Linked DNA regions of Homo sapiens: region 1 is linked to region 2. Evidence: promoter capture Hi-C in 16 types of primary human blood cells and fetal thymus (Javierre and others, 2016). All regions are on one chromosome and are shown on one strand. Each heading gives the region's core, a stretch centred on a gene start or on the middle of the fragment in contact. The rest is flanking DNA. Distances are from core to core; before and after follow the strand shown. Region 1 overlaps ZNF84 (zinc finger protein 84). Region 2 holds the start of ZNF605 (zinc finger protein 605).

The links. Contacts are between HindIII fragments. The CHiCAGO score rates a contact against its expected background, and 5 or more counts as called.
Region 1: a fragment that was not itself captured here is called in contact with the fragment with the promoter of ZNF605 in region 2 in 1 of 17 cell types (megakaryocytes); the score reaches 6.3 in megakaryocytes.

The regions. Positions count from the first base shown.
Region 1 is chr12:133,055,054-133,058,084 of GRCh38, forward strand. ZNF84 (zinc finger protein 84) reads left to right here. Exons shown (of 5, transcript NM_001289971.2): 5 at 1,901-3,031. Among named protein-coding and RNA genes, the nearest start is that of ZNF84, 19 kb to the left of the region's middle. The HindIII fragment of the contact is 343 bases long and covers 1,609-1,951 here.
Region 2 is chr12:132,954,794-132,957,914 of GRCh38, forward strand. It overlaps ZNF605 (zinc finger protein 605), which reads right to left and starts at 1,513. Exons shown (of 5, transcript NM_183238.4): 1 at 1,450-1,513. LOC124903064 (a long non-coding RNA gene) reads left to right here and starts at 1,756. Exons shown (of 2, transcript XR_007063552.1): 1 at 1,756-1,937. RefSeq lists enhancers at 231-1,061, 490-784, 1,062-1,890, 1,644-1,723 and a silencer at 1,144-1,483. The HindIII fragment of the contact is 12,358 bases long and covers 604-3,121 here.

The DNA.
Region 1 (3,031 bases), core at 530-3,029, 100 kb after region 2:
GTAACTCATTTGTCTCACACAGTAAACACAAATATTATGTAACAGAACTATATTCATATTCTTCATCCTAAAAATGGAGAAAATTTTGAGTTATTTATTGATTGTAGTATAGGACTCATTCTCTATTTGTTCAAATTATTCCATGTCAAGTGCCTAGAATAATTGTTCATGACATACTGTGAAATAGAAAATACTGATAGAGATGGATTACAAAAGTAAACTCAAAAAACATCCTATGAATTGTTTCATTATATATATAATAGAATATACTTATATCCACATAACAAAAAAATTAAATCTTTTTAGATAGAATAGTTGTTATAAACTGCTTAAGTTGTACATTTCATCAACACTTAATGAAAAACATCAATTTCTCACAAAAACTTCAAGCAGTAGAAGAGGTAATATTTCTTAATTCATCTGTTAGCCAGTAATACCATAATACCCAAAGGAGACAAAAGAATCACAAGATGACTATGAAACAACATCCTATTTAAATTTAGACACAGAAATTCTCAGAAATATTTAAAAAAAGAATACAAAAAGGTATAAGAATGATTACATACCATGACTAAGCAGGGTATTTTTCACAATGCAATGTTTGTTTAATATGATACAATATTACTTGAACAAAGTAAAAATGTAATAATTGAAATAGAAAAAGTTTGATAAATTCAACACCTATGAATGATAGAACACCAAGAAAACTATTAGAAGAAAACTTTTGAGACCTGCTAAAAGTCCTCCATGAAAAACCAAAATTGGCCCGGCGCAGTGGCTCACACCTGTAACCCAGAACTTTGGGAGGCTGAGGTGGAAAGACTGCATAAAGCCAGGAGTTCAAGACCATTCTGGACAATATAGGGAATCCCCATCTTTACAAAATATTAAAAAAAAATTATCTGGGCATGGTGGTGCATGCCTGTTGTCCCAACTACTCAGGCAGTTAAGGTGGGAGGATCTAAGTGGCTTTCTTAATAGTAATGTGAAGATGCATATGGCAAGTTTAAATAAAACTTTAGAATAAGAAACAATACACAAAATATTTCTCATTGTTTAAGCTTGAAATGACTAATCATTCTTTCAAATATTTTCATTTTCTTCTTAGTATTTACTACAGTGTATAGTTTGTTGTTTTAAAAATATTATCTTTTCCATTACAATATAAATTTTATAATGACAGGAACTTATTTTTTTATTTTTTATTTTTATTTTTTTGAGATGGAGTCTTGCTCTGTTACCCAGGCTGGAGTGCAGTGGCGTGATCTCGGCTCACTGCAATCTCCGCCTCCTGGGTTCACACCGTTCTCCTGCCTCAGCCTCCTGAGTAGCTGGGACTACAGGCGCCCACCACCACACCCGGCTAATTTTTTGTATTTTTAGTAGAGACGGGGTTTCACCATGTTAGACAGGATGGTCTCGATCTCCCAACCTCATGATCTGCCTGCCTCGGCCTCCCAAAGTGCTGGGATTACAGGTGTGAGCCACCGCTCCTGGCCTACAGGAACTTATTTTTTCTCTTGTGTCTCTAGTACCTTACACACTACCTGGGCATAGTGTATACTCAGAAAGTATTGAGTGAATTAATTACTCAAAACATTGGGTCAAAGCTTCTTCTAACCTTTTTTCTTTGCTTTTCATGTGTTTTTCATATTCCCCATTTAATAAACATATTTGTCAACAACCAAAGATGACTTAATCTCCAGTCAGTTTCCTGTTTCTGTTTTTAGCATTTCCTTGCAATACCTAGAAGATAGTTATTATACTTGGGACTTATTTCAGACTCGGAAACTAAGCCTTAAAAGCAGCCAACCCCTCAACATAGCATTTCTAGTTTTGTTTTGTTTTGTTTTGTTTTTAGAAAGCACAACCAAACAGATTGTTTTTGTTTCCTTTATAGAAGTCTGGAAAGTAGATGGTAACATGATGTGGCACCAGGATAACCAAGACAAGCTTAAAATTATAAAAAGAGGTCATGAATGTGATGCATTTGGAAAAAATTTCAATCTGAACATGAACTTTGTTCCTTTAAGGAAATCAAACAGTGAAGGTGACTTAGATGGATTGATTTTAAAACATCATTTAGATTTGCTTATTCCAAAAGGAGATTATGGAAAAGCAGAATCAGATGACTTTAATGTGTTTGATAATTTTTTTCTCCATTCCAAGCCTGAGGATACTGATACCTGGTTAAAATACTATGACTGTGATAAATATAAAGAGAGCTATAAAAAGTCACAGATTATCATATATCATAGAAATCGTTTAGGGGAGAAACTCTATGAATGCAGTGAATGTAGGAAGCGCTTCAGTAAGAAACCAAGTCTCATTAAACATCAGAGCAGACATATAAGAGACATAGCCTTTGGCTGTGGTAATTGTGGCAAAACCTTTCCCCAGAAGTCTCAGTTTATTACACATCACAGAACTCATACAGGAGAAAAACCTTATAATTGTAGCCAGTGTGGGAAAGCCTTCTCCCAAAAGTCACAGCTCACATCCCATCAGCGGACACATACAGGAGAGAAACCTTATGAGTGTGGTGAATGTGGGAAAGCCTTCTCCCGGAAGTCACATCTCATATCGCATTGGAGAACACACACAGGAGAGAAACCCTATGGATGCAATGAATGTGGGAGGGCCTTTAGTGAAAAGTCCAATCTCATTAACCATCAGAGAATTCATACCGGTGAGAAGCCTTTTGAATGCAGGGAATGTGGGAAAGCCTTCAGCAGGAAGTCACAACTCGTTACACATCACAGAACTCACACAGGAACAAAACCCTTTGGATGTAGTGATTGTAGAAAAGCATTCTTTGAGAAGTCAGAGCTTATTAGACATCAGACAATTCATACTGGAGAGAAACCCTATGAATGCAGCGAGTGTAGGAAAGCATTTAGAGAGAGGTCGAGTCTCATTAATCATCAGAGAACACATACAGGAGAGAAACCTCATGGATGCATTCAGTGTGGGAAGGCCTTCTCCCAGAAGTCACATCTCATATCACATCAGATGACACACACAGGAGAAA
Region 2 (3,121 bases), core at 263-2,762:
CCCCTCCAATGACGCCAAGTATGACCCCCGTTGTCCACGCACTCACAACTTGCAACAGGTCCACCATTAACTTACATCCAGACTCCCTTGTCACAAATACACAGCGCCATTCCTAATGCTTCCATCATAAGATCCCCAAACACAAGCACAGAAACAAACCCCAGCCACTCGCCAGCATAGGCCACCCCATACTCGCCTCCGCTATTGGAGACAGGGGTTGAAAGAGCAACCACTGTTATTCAGCTGTCAAATAAAACATACAACTGGACAGAGCAAAGAAAGACGGTTCCAAAGGGTTATTGGAAGTGGGGAAAAAAAGACGCGGAAGAGGGTTGGGAAGGGGAAGGAGAACGGGCTTCTGGGAAGAACCGTGAAGCCACGAGACTCACGTGCATCTCTGCAAGGCAAAAAGGGTTTTTCTTTCACAGAGAGGTGTGAACAAGGTTAGCAAAGACCAGGCCTGGCCAAGCGAGGTGGAAGTGCGGGCGACCAGACAGCAGAGCGGGGAAAGCTTGACCCTGAGCCAGCCTGTTCTCAGGCGAGGCTGCGTGTTGGCTCAGGCTGGGGATGGGCCAAAGCTCAAGAAAATGGGGAAAGGAAAGAAGCTTAGCTAAAGTTTGCTTAAGGAGCATTTTGCTCCGACCGCTCGGTGGAGTTCAGCCAGTCACCGATGAGGCAAGCGACGGCAACGTGGCAGGTCTGTGTGAACAAGGGGCATCCTGGAGGCTGACCAAAGTCATATAGGGAACGGGAGATCTTTGCAGTGAGCCATTTGCTGGAACCCAAAAGGGTGGGAAATTCCTCAACCTTCGCTGTTTTCCAGGAGCACAGGGCTCTGGTGAAATCCAACACTGTCACAGCCGGCAGGCTTTCCAGTGAATGGAACCCACACAAGCAAGCCCCTAAGCCCTCCAACGCAGGCCCCCGCAGAAGCCTCATCATTCACCCCGCTGGCCTCCAATGCTCACCCAAAGGCATCCAAATCATTCATCAGCAGAGTCCTAATCGCTGCAGACAAATCCTCCACACGGCCTCCCAGGGGCCCCTCTCCCCTGGGGCCAAGGGCAACCTCGCGTCCCCTTGCCCCGCCCGTGCTGCACCCCAAGTCTACAGCGACCTCCATAGGCCCCCAGTGAATCGCCCAGCTGACCCCAAATCTCCCCCGACACCCACATTCAGCGCCCCGCCGCCGCCCGCCCTACAGCCCCCACCCCACCCTCTGCCTCCCACCCCCGCGCGCCCCCAGAGCCCCCGCCTGAGGCCCGCCTTCCGCGCATGCGCCCAGGCCGGTCCGCAGGCCTTTCTCGCCCCAGCCGGCAGCCAGCTCGTTCGCGCTGGGGTCACCGCGAGCCGGTCCGCAGCGGGGTCACCGCGATCCCCGGCGCAGACACAGAGGCCGCCCCCAGCCCCGCCGCCTCGTGGTCCCGCCCCCGCTGCACGCTCCCTTACCCCTCGGACCTCGCAGGGCCGCGGCGGACACGGCCCGATCGGGGACGTGAACGCGCAGAACTACATTTCCCAGCGTCCCGCTCGCGCTGGAACTACACTTCCCGGGGGGCTCGGCGGTGCACCCGCCGGGGTCGCGGATTGGAGGTTTCCGGTTGGAAAAGCCCCTTGGCGGCTAACTGGGGAGGACTGGAAGAAATCTAGGATGGAGCCAGCACTGCTGGCCCAACATGTCTGTGAGAGAACCTAAAGGCGCCTCCAGGAGGAAGCGTCTGCATCTTTTCCTTGTTTTTTTTTTTTTTTTTTTTGGAGGCAGGGTCTCGCTCTGTCACCCAGTGGGGAGTGCAGTGGTGCCATGAACGCTCATTGCAGCCTCAGGCTGGTCTCCGACTCCTGGGTTCAAATGATCCTCCTGCCCCAGCCTCCCAAAATGCTGGAATTACAGGCATGAGTCACTGCGTCCGGCTGCTTTTCCATTTTTCATCGTAGCTGTAAGTAATATCGGTAAATGTTAGTGTTACGTGCGTCCGTATAGGAGACCACCTGAGCAGGCTAAGTGTGAGCAACACGCCTGTTTATTCACTTGGGTGCAAGTGGGCTGAGTCTGAGAAAGGAGTCAGCGGAGGGTGGTGGGCTTGTCATTGGTTCTTATAGCTTTGGGATAGGATAGGCGGTGGAGTCAGCAGCAATTTTTTTTTTTTTTTTTTTTTTTGAGACAGAGTCTCACTCTGTCGCCGAGGCTGGAGTGCAGTGGCGCGATCTCGGCTCACTGCAAGCTCCGCCTCCCGGGTTCACGCCATTCTCCTGCCTCATCCTCCTGAGTAGCTGGGACTACAGGCACCCGCCACCACGCCCGGCTAATTTTTTTGTATTTTTAGTAGAGACGGGGTTTCACTGTGTTAGCCAGGATGGTCTTGATCTCCTGACCTCGTGATCCGCCCTCCTCGGCCTCCCAAAGTGCTGGGATTACGGGCGTGAGCCACCGCGCCCGGCCTCAGCAGCAATTTTTTGCGGGCAGGGGAGGATGTTACAAAGTACATTCACAAGGGCGGGGAGGGTGTATTGTCACAAGGGCGGAGAGGAATGTTACAAAGTACATTCACAAGGACCGGGAATATTACAAAGTACATTATCACAAGGGTGGGGGAATGTCACGATGGCTTGACCATGGTGCGGCCAGCTCAGAGGACCTTACATTTAGTACATCCAATCCAGCAGTATTGACAAAAGGAATGAAAATAGATGATAGGGTTGGGCGCGGTGGCTCACGGCTGTAATCCCAGCACTTTGGGAGGCTGAGGTGGGCGGATCACCAGGTCAGGAGATTGAGACCATCCTGGCCAACACGGTGAAACCCCGTCTCTACTAAAAATACAGAACATTAGCTGGGCGTGGTGGTGGGCGCCTGTAATCCCATCTACTCGGGAGGCTGAGGCAGGAGAATCACTTGAACTCGGGAGGCGGGGGTTGCGGTGAGCCATCATGCCGCTGCACTCTAGCCTGGCAACAGAGTGAGACCTCATCTCAAGAAAAAAAAAAGGAAAAATAAATGAGATGAGGACATTACAGGGAAATAAAATATATTTATGGATATATAAAGCAGTGGCTTGTCCCTGTAGTCCCAACTACTGGAGGCTGAGGCAGGAGGATTGCCTGAGCCTGGGAGGTTGAGGCT